3 separate regions of the Homo sapiens genome follow, and regions 1 and 2 are each linked to region 3. The links are contacts of gene promoters, found by promoter capture Hi-C in blood cells and fetal thymus (Javierre and others, 2016). All regions are on one chromosome and are shown on one strand. The core of a region is centred on a gene start or on the middle of the fragment in contact, and the rest is flanking DNA. Distances in the headings are between cores, read along the strand shown. Region 1 overlaps ARHGEF16 (Rho guanine nucleotide exchange factor 16). Region 2 has its middle 5.3 kb from the start of ARHGEF16. Region 3 holds the start of TPRG1L (tumor protein p63 regulated 1 like).

Region 1 (3,854 bases), core at 1,109-3,608, 150 kb after region 3:
GGGCGGGACCCGGACCTGGGATGCTGGACAGCAGGGAGGGCGGGTGGGAAGTGGTCAGAGGCCTGGGGCTCCTTACAGAGCCCCCTGCCACGATCCCACGCACTGGTGCCGTCCCTCTGTTGTCCAGGGGCAGCCCCAGGGACTGTCCCCAAAGGCGGGCCCATTTGGACCTCCTGTCCTGGTGCCCTGTCCAGTTGGTGCCCTTCGCCCTTCAAGCTCCTTCCAGCTAAAACGACTGGGCCTCCACACAGGCCCGGGCCCCCGCTGCCGCACCAGCTTGCCCCTGGGAAGAAACTCAAGGACGGAGACTCAGGGGACAGGCACAAGAGCAAAGAGGGGCGATGCCTGGGGCCACCCCTTCCAAGGATGAGTCCCAAATCCGAGGCAGCTCTGCTGGTCAAGCTCCCAGCTGGGTTCATGAACTGTTTACTTTCACTAGGTCCCCCACCCCGTTCTGAGGGAACAGTCAAGGCCGGGGGGGGGCCAGCTGTGGGCTCTTGGCAGACTCCCTGGAAGGGGCTACCAGCCCCTCACCTCCCCATGACCCAGGCCTTGGTCCAGGGTGATCAGGATGAAGGGAGTTAACACTTGGTCAGAGCTAGGCCAGGGCTGCCAGGATTCTGCCCCCATGGGCGGCCACGGCCACCAAGGCTGGGCTTGGCTGGACCCACGATGGTCACCTGCTGTGTGAGGCGGTGGCTGGAGCCTCGTCCATCCTGCAGACCCTCAGAGCACCCAACCCGAGACCACATCCGTGTCTCCAGGCCGCCGCCACAGGAGGTCCTCCCAGCCCAAGAGCTCTGTCCTTCGGAGGACTCCCTTACCCAGCGTGGAGGTGGGCGGGAGTCCCTCCTCCTCTGCTCACGGGGCCCGACTGGGCCTGCCACCCACGCAGGAGCCACGCTTCCTGCAGGGAGAGTGTCCTGACAGCTGCTTGCCCTTGAGAATCCCCAGCAGATGGAGCTGCAGTCCCCGTGGACGAGGACCCAGCAGGTCATGGGAGGCCTCGGTTGCTGGATGAGCAGGGCCACGACATGCGTACGTGCCCAGGCCGGCCAGGCCGGTCAGCAGCTCATATGGGTGACTGCAGGTTCTGAGAAAGGTCTGGGAGAGCCGCCCACCAGCCGCTTACCCCAAATAGCGATGATTCCCCAGACAGTTCACTGTGAATGCCAGGAGCTGTCGGGGGCCCAGCTGGGGGAGGAGGCCGGAGCTTCCCGCCCCAGGGCAGCAATCTAAAGCCCTGAGGAGGTCAGAGGCAAACATGCAGCTGCCTGAGGCAGAGGGGACCGGAGGACACAGAGCTCAGAGAACACAAAGCCTGCCTGGCTGGGGGCAGAGCTGGGGGAGGGGCAGCCGCTATCCCAGACCCCTCCCCCTCCCCCAGCCCCATCCCATGCTGAGTCAGAGGTTGGGAGTTTCCCATAGCTGGTCCCTGGAGCTCTACAGGAAGCCCCTGTCTCCAGGGACAAGGCGGCTCCCTGCCCACCCTCAGGGCCCCAAAGTTCCGCAAGGGCACCCCACAGGCAGCAGATGGGTGGGACTCGCCAGGGGCGGGGCTGATATAAGAATGCGCCAGCAACCACCACTGTTGGGGCAGCCCTGTGCCAGGCACTACAGGCCCCTAATCATCTCCCAGCGCCACCCAAGCCCACGAGGGGACCAGAGGCACCGCCCCTCAGGTTAGCATTGAGGCTGAGGCTCAGGAGACTCGATGCTCCGGGGTCCTCCTGCATATAGGGAGCAGCACAGGGTCGAGACCACACATACCCCTGCCCAGGCACACACACCCACGCACACACACCCCTGCCCAGGCACACACACCCACGCACACACACCCCTGCCCATGCACACATACCTGTCCATGCACACACACATCCCTGCCCACGCACACACACCCCTGGCCAGGTACACACACCCACGCACACCCCTGCCCACGCACACACACCCCTGGCCAGGCACACACACCCACGCACACCCCTGCCCATGCACACACACCCCTGCCCACACACATACCCCTGGCCAGGCACACACACCCACGCACATACACCCCTGCCCACGCACACACACCTGTCCACGCACACACACCCCTGCCCACACACACATCCATGCACATACACCCATGCATACACACCAGGGTGCCGGATGCTCCCGAGCCACCCTCCGGGCCTTGGGGCCAGCCCACTCACACACACCCCTGACCACGCACACACAGCCATGCACAGACACCCTTGCCCACGCACACACACCTACTCACATACATCCCTGACCACGCAGATACACAGACATCCCTGCCCACGCACACACACCCACTCACACACACCTGACCGAAAACACAGCCACTCACACACACCCCTACCCACTCACACATAACCCTGACCACGCATACACACCCCTGCCCACGCACACACATCCCTGCCTGTGCACACACCCGTCCATGCACACACATCCATGCACACACCCGCGCACACACAACCATGCATACACACCCCTGCCCCACACCCATGCACACACACTGCTGCCCAGGCACACAAACCCATGCACACCTACACACACACATACCTGCCCACGCACACACAACCCTGTCCACACACACCCGTGCAGACACACCCGTGCAGACACCCCTGCCCATGCATACACACCCTTGCCCATGCATACACACCCCTGCCCCCACACACCCATGCATACACACCAGGGTGCTGGATGCTCCCGAGCCACCCTCCAGGCCTCGGGGCCAGCCCACTCACACACACCACTGACCATGCACACACAGCCATGCACAGACACCCCACCCCACACACACACCCACGCACACACACCCCACCCCACCCCACGCACATACCCCCGTGCATGGCTGCAGCTGCATGTCCAGCCTCTCTACCTCCAGGCCCTGCAACCAGAGCTCAGGTCCAGCCACCAGACACCTTTGGGTGGAACATGACCCAGAGCTGCAACTCGAGGCTTCCTGCCTACAGGTGAGCAGCTTGTGGCCACCACTGCCTGGATCATGCAGCCCTCTGTGCCTGGACGTCCTGGTGGGGTGGTGCTTGGCAGTGGGGCAGGGTTGTACCCCTGGGAAGTGCTCCACGTCTTAAGAACGACCAGGATGCCACAGCCCCAGTGCTTAGCCCGGCCCTGGGGCCAGCTCTTGGTGGCCTCAAGGACCCTCAGAGGTCATCACACTCCGCGGGAGCCAGCAGCTGCTCTAAACCATCCACATCAAGGTGCAGCGCAGGCTCCCAGGGGCCTGCTGATGACAGTGCGGTGCCCACGGGGGGAGGCACCTTCCTGGCAGAGGACCCTGTGTGGAAGGCTGTGGCGTGGCCTCACCTCTGACTGGCACCCAGGACATCCAGGATGTTGGAGAAGAGGTGGTGGTGCTCCATCTGGGTCACGGTCGCCCGCAGCTCCTTGGACTGCAGGAACTCCTCCACCAGGATGCTCAGGCTGTGCTGGTAGGAGAACTCCGACGTGAGGATCTCGAACATGGCCTGTGGAGAGGGGCCTAGGTGAGCCCCACAGTGACGCTGGACACGGGCGTGCCTCGGTGACCAATGCTTGGAACAGGAGGACGTGACCCGGGTGGCAGGGGCAGGTGGGGACAGGAACCCCAGACACACCCCTGGATGGGGCTGTCAGAATGGCCAGCTTGGAGATGCCAGCCCGACGTCCCTGGATGCCCCTGGCTGGGTGCCTTATGAGCCGGCTGAAGCTGGGCAACGACCCCCGTCCTTGTCAGAGAAGGGGGTGATGGCAGCCCCTGGACTCCGAGGATTCACCCGGTGACGTGAAGGGGCTCCGTCAGGGCCTGGCGCAGGTGGAAGCACAGCCCGGGGCTGTGTGAGGCGCTGGTC
Region 2 (4,267 bases), core at 461-2,960, 180 kb after region 3:
ATTCCTGGAGAAAGAGGTAAATAAGCCTTTGGCCAAGAGAGGCTGGTGGCCTCACTGGGCTACAGGGGACAGAGTTGGGGAGCCAAGGAGGCCAAGGACTATGGAGAGAGTCCTGGAGAGAAGGCAGCAGTGCAGGGGAGCCCCGAAAGAGTCCTGGAGAGAAGGCAGCGACGTAGTGGAGCCCCCAAAATCCCCACAGGGGTCCACTTGAGCCTTTGGCTGAATACTGAACTGTGCATAAGCAGAGTAAGATCCCATGAAGCCAGGGACCAACAGCGACCAGGGAGCTCTGTGAGCAGAGTGACACCAGAGTTCATACCAGGCCAGGGGACGCTGGAACGTCAGCCACCAGGAAGGAAGCACCGTCGCTGACTATCCCTCGTTGACCTCAGCCGCTTGGGAGTCTGAGGTGGGAGGATCGCTTGAGCCTGGGGAGGACGAGTCTCCAGTGAGCTATGATCGAGCCAGTGTACTCCAGCCACTGTACCAAGACTCTGTCTCAAAAAAAGAATGTCTGAAAAATTTCCAAATGTGATAAAAACTTGTAGATCCACAGATCCAAGAACCTCAAAGCAATGGAGAATAAGTCCAAAGAAGTCAAAGCAGCATACGTACAAAGCAGACCCCACCACAGTACCTCATAATGAAATGGCTGAAAACCAGGGACAGAGGGAAAAAATCCTGACCACCCAGAATATTCAGTAGATACCAAAGAAGGCCATGTCCTAGGTGAAGGGCTGAAGTAATCCTAGGGTGACAGCTCCTCTAGACATGACCTAACAGAAGTTCAAAGCAAGTCCTGAGAGGACCAGGCTGATCCACAAGTACGTTAACTGTGCATCAGCATAACACTCAACATGCTTGAAAAGAAGGCCAGTAAAATCCAGAAACTCAAACAATTTGACATTTACGACCTCCAGCACCCAATGCAAAATTACACATTTACAACCTCCAGCACCCAATGCAAAATTACACATTTACGACCTCCAGCACCCAATGCAAAATTACACATTTACGACCTCCAGCACCCAATGCAAAATTACACATTTACGACCTCCAGCACCCAATGCAAAATTACTAGACATGTGAAGAAGCAGGAACAGGAACCTGTGACAAATAACTAGGAAAAAAATCAGTCAGTAGAAGCAGACCCAGAAATGACACGGATGACAGGATTCGCAGAGAAGGCATTTAAAACAACAATCAAAAATACCCCAAAGGATCAGCTGGGCATGGTGCCGCATGCCTGTAATCCCAGCACTTGGGAAGGCTGAGATGGTGAGTTGCTTGAGTCCAGGAGTTCAAGACCAGCCTGGGCAACGTGGTGAAACCCCATCTCTACAAAAAATACAAAAAATTAGCTAGGTGAGCTACTCAGGAGACTGGGGTGGGAGGATCACTTGAGCCCAGGATTTGGAGGCTGCAGTGAGCTGAGCTCGCACCACTGCCCTCCAGCCTGGGCAACAGAGCCAGACCCTGTCTCTCTCTCTCTATACACACACACACACACACACACACACGCGGACACACACGGACACACATATACACACACACACATATATATAATATATACACACACACCACCCAAGGATTTATAGGAAACGATGATCACAGTCAAAGGAGAGATGGAAAGTATAATAATGAATCAAATGGAAATCCTAAAGATGAAAATATACAGTGTAGGAAACAAAAAATCTATTGGATGAGATTAACAGCAGATGAAACTACAGAGGAAAACAATCAGTAAACTTGAAGCCAGGACAAGTTACTCAGACTGAAGCACGCAGAGGAAAAACCTAGGGAAAAGGCAGAAACCGAGCCTTGCCCACCTTGAGACGGTATCAGGCATCAGGCAGTCTAACAATATGTGTAACTGGAGGACCAGAAAGGAGGGAGTGGGGAGGGAAGAACATATGTTTAAAGCAATGGCTGGGTACAGTGGCTCACGCCTGTAATCCCAGAACTTTGCATGACTGAGGCGGGCGGATCACTTGAGGCCAGAAGTTCGAGACAAGCCTGGGCAACATGGTGAAACCCTGTCTCTACTAAAAGTACAAAAATTAGCCAGGCATGGTGGTGCATGCCTATAGTCCCAGCTACTTGGGAGGCTGAGGTGGGAGGATTGCTTGAGCCCAGGGAGGTCGAGGCTCCAGTGAGCTGTGATTGAACCACTGTACTCCAGCCTGGGTGACAGACCAAGACTCTGTCTTATTAAAAAAAAAAAAAAAGGAAGAATGGCTGAAAATTTTTCAGATGTAATAAAAACTCATAGATCCACAGAATCAAGGACCTTAAAATGAAGTAGAATAAGTACAAAGATGTCAAGGCAGCATACGTACAAAGCAGACCACACCAAGGTACCTCATAATGAAATGGCTGAAAACCAGTGACAGAGGGAAAAATCGTAAGGGAATAAAGACCAAAATAACTGCTGGCTTGTCATCAGAAACACTGAAAGCTGAGAGAACTACAACAACATCTTTAAAGTGCTGAAAGAAAACAAAACTGTCAACCAAGATGTCCATTTCTCTTGAAAATATCCTTCAAAAATGAAAGGAAAATAAAGACATGTTAAGGCAAACGCTGAGAAAATTCATCACCAGTAGACCCACACTATAAGAAATGTCACAGGAATTTTTTCAGGCGAAAGGAAAATGATACCAGATATAAATTCAGGTCTGCACAAGGAGTAGAAACCCACTGGAAATGGCAAATATGTCAATAAATGTGAGAGGCTTTTTTTCTGTGCTTCAAAACATTCCTTTTTTTTTTTTTTTTTTAAATGGAGTCTCACTCTGTCGCCCAGACTGGAGTGTAGTGGCACGATCTCAGCTCACTGCAACCTCCACTTCTTGGGTTCAAGTGATCCTCCTGCCTCAGCCTCCCCAGTAGCTGGGACTACAAGCACACACCACCATGCCTGGCTAATTTTTGTATCTTTTTAGTAGAGATGGGGTTTCACCATTTTGGCCAGGCTGGTCTTGAACTCTTGACCTTGTGATCTGCCCGCCTTGGCCTCCCAAAGGGCTGGGATTACAGGTGTGAGCCACTGCACCCGGCCCAAAACAGTTCTTTAAAAGATCAGAGACTAATGTGAAAATAACGACAGTGTATTATCAAATTTATATGTAAAAGTGAAATATATTACAGTAAAAGTTCAAAATGCAGGAGGAGAGAATAGAAATATACCAGAGTAAAGTTTGTATATTTTACAGTGAGTATAATATCACTTAAAGATAGACAATGATGAAGATAAATACTGAAAACTCTAGATCAGACACTAAAAATTAAGGTGAGGAGCTACAGCTAATAAGTCCAGGGAGAAGAGAGAATTGAATCCTAGAAAATACTCATCCAAAAGAGGGCAGAGGAACAGAAAAAAAGACGAAAACCAGATCTGACAAATAGAAAACAAATATCAAGATGGTAGCCTATATCTAACCATACCAATAATTATATTAAATGTGAATGGATTAAACACCCCAATTAAAAGATAGAGATTGTCAGACTGGATAAAAAGCAAGACCCAGTGACATGATGCTTATTAGATAGGGTGATTCAAATATAAAGACACAGATAGGATGAGAGTAAAAGGAAAGTAAGAGATACGCATGCAACTATTAGTCACAAGAAAGCATGCATGGCAATGCTGATATTAGACAAAAGCGGATTTCAGAATAAGAATATTGCCATGGGGAAAAGGGACAGTTTGTAATAATAAAGGATTCAGTTGGTCAAGAAGACAGTCCTAAGTGCATATCCACATAATAACAGTTTCAAAATACACACGAGCAGATGACCACTGACCAGGCTGAAAGGAAACCAGACCCACAGGTATAGTTGAAAGTTTCAACACTTGCTCTCAACAACTGATAGGACACTAGATAGCAAAATCACCAAGGGTATAAAACACTTGACCAACCCTATCAACCAACTTGACCTAATTGACATTTATAGAGCGCTGTGCCCAACAACTCCAGAATTCATATTCTTTTCAAGTACACATGAAATATACACCAAGACAGACCACGTATTAGGCCATAAAACATGCCTGCATACATTTAAAATGACTGAAATCCCACAGAGTGTGTTTTCTGACAACACAATTAAATTAGAAACCAATCACAAAATGATATCTGAAAAATTCTTAAATATTTGGAAATTAAACAATGCACTTTTAAGTAATCTGAAGGTCAAAGAAGGAATTGCAGGAGAGAAATTAGAAAATATTTTAACTGAATTATAATGAAAATACGTAATATGAAAA
Region 3 (4,527 bases), core at 901-3,400:
CTAATTTTGTATTTTTAGTAGAGACAGGGTTTATCCATTTTGGTCAGGCTGGTCTCAAACTCCTGACCTCAGGTGATCCGCCCGCCTCAGCCTCCCAAGGTGCTGGGATTACAGGCGTGAGCCACCGTGCCTGGCCGGCCTGTGGTTTTTAGTAGTAACTTCAATCTCCACTAACAATTGCTTTAAATACTGTGGGTATAAATATGACAAATTAGGTATATTTTGGTTATTAAATGTATTATTTTGGTAATCTTTACATGATTAAAAATTAATAAACAGGAATACTGGCTGGGCACGGTGGCTGACATCTATAATCCCAGCGCTTTGGGAGGCCAAAATGGGCGGATCTCTTGAGCCCAGGAGTTTGAGAACAGCCTGGGCAACCTAGCAAAACCCCATCTCTACAAAAAATACAAAAATTAGCTGGGTGTGGTGGCGGGCACCTGTAGTCCTAGCTACTTGGGAGGCTGAGGTGAGAGGATCACTTAAGCCTAGGAGGTGGAGGATGCAGTGAACCAAGACTGCACCACTGGTGCCTGGGTGACAGAGTGGGACTCCGTCTCAAAAAAAAAAAAAAAAGGGAATAATTATAGATAGGCTAGCCAAATGAGTGAAAAGGAAGTGTAATCTTCCTTTTCCTTATGTCATATTAAATGTTTTAACCAAAAGGTAAAATTTTTATTTTAGCTTCCTGAATCCCCCATCCAAATCTCTCCATCAAAAACCCAAGTTCTACAGCTTAACTGACTGTAGTAATGTTTAGGTTCCTCACGTCAGAAAATTATCCTACAGCAAAAAGATCAACTCCTGAAAGCTGGTCATTAAATATTTCCAAATTTGTCTTTTAGTGGTATCTATAAATTACAACGGGACCCTCCATTTCTCTTTAAAAAATTAGCCAGAGCAAGACTTGATGTGTCATATGCAATCTGTCCCTGGCTGGAGAAAAATGCAGAGTTTGGACTTTTCCTGAAGAACATCCAAGTTCCTTTTTAACACGCTGGGCTCTACTTCAATGCATCCTGAACTCATGTAAGTCTTTTTACTACCAGCCTAATAGCTGCCTTCTGTGCCAGAATTCCTTTTAATGCACTCAATTGCCCAGAAGTCGCTTCTTTTTAAGGAACTTCCCATTGATATTTGGAGCTGGAGCCTTTGTGCTTATAATTAATGACAGAGAAGACACACCGCTTGGGGGGCTGATTTAAAAGGGCTGAATTGTAAGGTCCACTCTGGTGCTTAGGTCCAGTGATACTGGACTCTGAACAGGCTTACTTGTTGAGCGATTTAGGGGGAAACTGGAATTCTCCGTAGGAAATGGTGTCTACTGCGTTGAGCGCTATCCGCACCACCTGCTGGCACTGGAGACTGATGAAGTCGTATTTACAGATAAGCAGGGACTGCTCCGTGACCAGCACCAGCCGCTCCTTCTCATTGTTCCAGTGATCCACCCTGTAGGCAGAGGAGGGGCCTCAGTCCACACTGGACGCGGCTGTCTCGACTTAGCCAAGGCCAGCCCGCCTGGAAGGGCAGCAGGGGCGGCACGGGGCGCCTGAGCGTGGCACGAGCACCCCGGGAAGTCCTCGCAAGGTGCTGCGCGGCGGCTCGGGGCGAGTCCCCCCACCAAGGAGAGCGCAGCCCCGGCTTACTCGGTAAGCAGCCACACTCCCTGGATCTCGCCGTCCTCCACGGGCCGCACCACCACGCGGATCTCCTCCACTGCCTGCTCGATGCTGCCGGGCTGGGCGGGTTGCGGGGTGGGGGACGGGGGCAAAGATCACAGGTCACAGCTCGCTCCCTGCGGGACCGCCCGGCGCCCGCCTCCGACCCCACCCGCCCCCATCCCGCCCCGCGCCCTCGGCCCCCGCCCCGGCCCTGGCCCCTGCCTCACCCGGAACACGAAGTACTCCTTGACGCGGGCGCGGCGCGTGGGGTCGTGGATGCTGAGAGGCCAGAGTGTCTGGCGCAGCGGCGTCCCCGCCCCCGGCCGCCCCCCGCCCGGGCCGCCGCCTGCCCCCACCTCCTCGCCGGCCGCCAGCACCGCCGTGGGGCTCGTACCGGCCGAGTCCACCGAGTCCCGCAGTTGCAGCATTGCCGCACCCCTTACCGACCCCGACCCTGACGCCGACGCGACCGCCGTCGCCGCAGCCACCGCCACCACCCGGCCGCGCCCCCGGCCCCGCCCCGCGGACCGCCGCGATTGGCTCCGCCTTGCCGGCCCCGCCTCTGGCTCCGCCCCTTCCCGCGTCCGCCGACCCTCGGGATTGGCTCTCCTCCTGCCGTTTTCCGCGATTGGCTCTGCCCCGCCGCCGTTCACAATCGCTCCCGCCCCTCGCCGGGCCGGAAGCGACCGTCACGCGCAGGCTCACTTCCTGTTTACACAACGAGAAGGGGCGGGGCCGAAGCCGGTTGCCAGGGTGTCGCGGAGCGGCTGGGAAGGAGGGGCTGGGAATCTTGGAGCCCCTTGGCCCGCGGGGAAAGCGGGTGACCCGCCCTGCAAGTGGGATGCCCCCTTCGGCCTTCTGGAGCGCAGGTGGGGGCGCGCGCCCATCGGGGGCTCGCACTGCACGGAGGGTCGCGGTGCCGGGGAGCTGAGGTTGGAGGATGCAGGGCGGCGGCCCTGGTGCACCGTGGGGGAGTTCGCACGCCGGGCAGCGATCTTCTGCCGGGACCTGGCGTTCTTCACACACGGCTTATTCGTGACGGATCCACAGAGCAATGCACTCTGAAGCCGGAGGGTAGAAAGTGCTGGAATGCGCGCCCGGGCCCAGGCTGTCGCGAGCCTTCAGCAAGCCAGTGCACACAGAGAGGGCTGCCCAGAGATCCCGGTCAGCGCTCGCAGTTCGAGGTGGAACATGTGTGTGCCCTGCGCTAGCCCCAGCTCCCGGAGGTGCCCCCAGCGCGTGTGGAGGGGGGCGGTGAACGGACCCGCAATCTGGTGGAGGCTGCGGGAAGGAGGCGCAGAGTCCAGGGGTCAGGGTTACCTTCGGGCAGGAGGACAGATCCCTCTGCTCGGAGGTGAGGAAGACACACGAGGCGAGGTGCACACAGGCGAGGAGAGTGAGATGGGGGGAGAATGAGGAGTTCAGGATACATCTGTTTACTTCAGTCAGGGAGTGGGGATGGAGCGGAGTATTTGTAAAGATGGACGGTTTAGAATCGCCGGGATGAGAACCGGGCAGGGAGCTGATCAGGGAAGGGCATGGGGATCTCTGAGCAGCTGGGAGACCCCAGGGAAGTTTGCAGTGGCGCCTCCCACGCGGCAGCTGGGGGAGTGGAAGAAACCAATGCTGGCTGGTCTAGATGGAGGAGTTTGCTGGGTAGCGGTGGTCAAAGACCAGAGAGAAAAGGGAGGCCAAAATCCTAGAGGGAGTGTTGCCCAAGAATGGTGGAGTGCAGGGATTCTGCCCCACTTGCCAGCAGACAGGCCAGGCTGCCAAAGTTGCATGGGCGCTGGCAGAAAGACCCAATACCCCTGGAGTCAGAGAGGAAAGACTACAACAGGAAACGGGCGACGCTGGTGTGCCCAGACGCATGTTGCACCACAGCGGGTGCACTACAAAACAGGACCCTGGATCCTGTGGACCAATGTGGTCTTTGTCCCACAGGGAGGCTGTCTCCCCGGCAAGGGTGCCCACTGCAAGCACAGGCGTGAGAAATGGCCCAGAAAAGAGTGGTCAGGGCAATGTGTTCTTGGCACGCCCAGCAAGACCTGCCAGAGGGACCTACAGACGAGTGTCTCCCAGCTATCTTACCAGCGGGGACCTTGAGGTCCAAGTATCCAGTCCGGTTAGAAATGGCCGCGGATCCAACAGGTGCTGGTGAGTGGGAGAATACCCCTGAGGGAGGAAGAACAGAGGCCGGGAGGGAGCTGAGTGGATGTAGATGAGAAATACCTGGACAGCTGCAAGCTGTAGTCAGTGATGGGCAACTGGAACCAGAGATTCCAGAGAGAGGGAGGGAGAAAGAGGGAGGAGAAGGGAGAATGAGAAAGAGAGGGAGAGAGAATGGGGGGGAGAAAGAGGGAGAATGGGGGAGAGAGGTAGGAGCAAGTTCTGGACCACGCCAAGGATGGAGCTGTGGTCCTGGAACCAGATGTCCAGGGAATGGGATGAAGTGACACTGGCTGGGGCCGAGGCTGCAGACTGCTGGTGGGAGCTGGCAGGACAATGAGGATTCTGAACCAGGTGCCTGAGCCTTCTGTGGATATGGGGAGTGACTTGGATGTCTATAAATTCCAGAAATGATAGGAGGGATAGATGATGGAGGGACTGTATTTTAGACAATAAACAAATTTCACTCAGTATGGATGAGTTTCCTGGGGCTTCTGTCACAATGCATCACAAACTGGTTTTAAAAACAACAACTGTTTTAAAAACAACAGAAACGTGTTTCCTCATAGCCCTGGAGGCCAGAAGTGCAAAATCAAGGAGTGTGCAGGGCCATGCTCCCTCTGCAGCCCTGAGGGTTGACGCATGTCTTGCTCTGCCAGGCCTGCTTGGTGTCCTGGGCTTGCTCATGCACTGC

The links. The method cuts DNA at HindIII sites, captures the fragments that hold promoters and counts their contacts. A CHiCAGO score of 5 or more calls a contact.
Region 1: a contact is called between a fragment that was not itself captured here and the fragment with the promoter of TPRG1L in region 3, in 1 of 17 cell types (total CD4 T cells). The highest score is 5.9, in total CD4 T cells.
Region 2: a fragment that was not itself captured here is called in contact with the fragment with the promoter of TPRG1L in region 3 in 15 of 17 cell types (naive CD8 T cells, total CD8 T cells, naive CD4 T cells and 12 more); the score reaches 10.3 in naive CD8 T cells.

Annotation. Positions count from the first base shown.
Region 1 is chr1:3,469,070-3,472,923 of GRCh38, reverse strand. It overlaps ARHGEF16 (Rho guanine nucleotide exchange factor 16), which reads right to left. Exons shown (of 15, transcript NM_014448.4): 6 at 3,331-3,491. Among named protein-coding and RNA genes, the nearest start is that of ARHGEF16, 16 kb to the right of the region's middle. RefSeq lists an enhancer at 732-1,357. The HindIII fragment of the contact is 7,512 bases long and covers 1-3,854 here.
Region 2 is chr1:3,447,266-3,451,532 of GRCh38, reverse strand. No RefSeq gene overlaps it. Among named protein-coding and RNA genes, the nearest start is that of ARHGEF16, 5.3 kb to the left of the region's middle. The HindIII fragment of the contact is 5,295 bases long and covers 1-4,267 here.
Region 3 is chr1:3,622,638-3,627,164 of GRCh38, reverse strand. TPRG1L (tumor protein p63 regulated 1 like) reads right to left here and starts at 2,150. Exons shown (of 5, transcript NM_182752.4): 1 at 1,892-2,150; 2 at 1,650-1,741; 3 at 1,276-1,452. The coding sequence starts at 2,092. It also overlaps a transcript of MEGF6 not described here. RefSeq lists enhancers at 1,114-1,776, 2,757-2,876 and a silencer at 2,077-2,306. The HindIII fragment of the contact is 13,719 bases long and covers 1-4,527 here.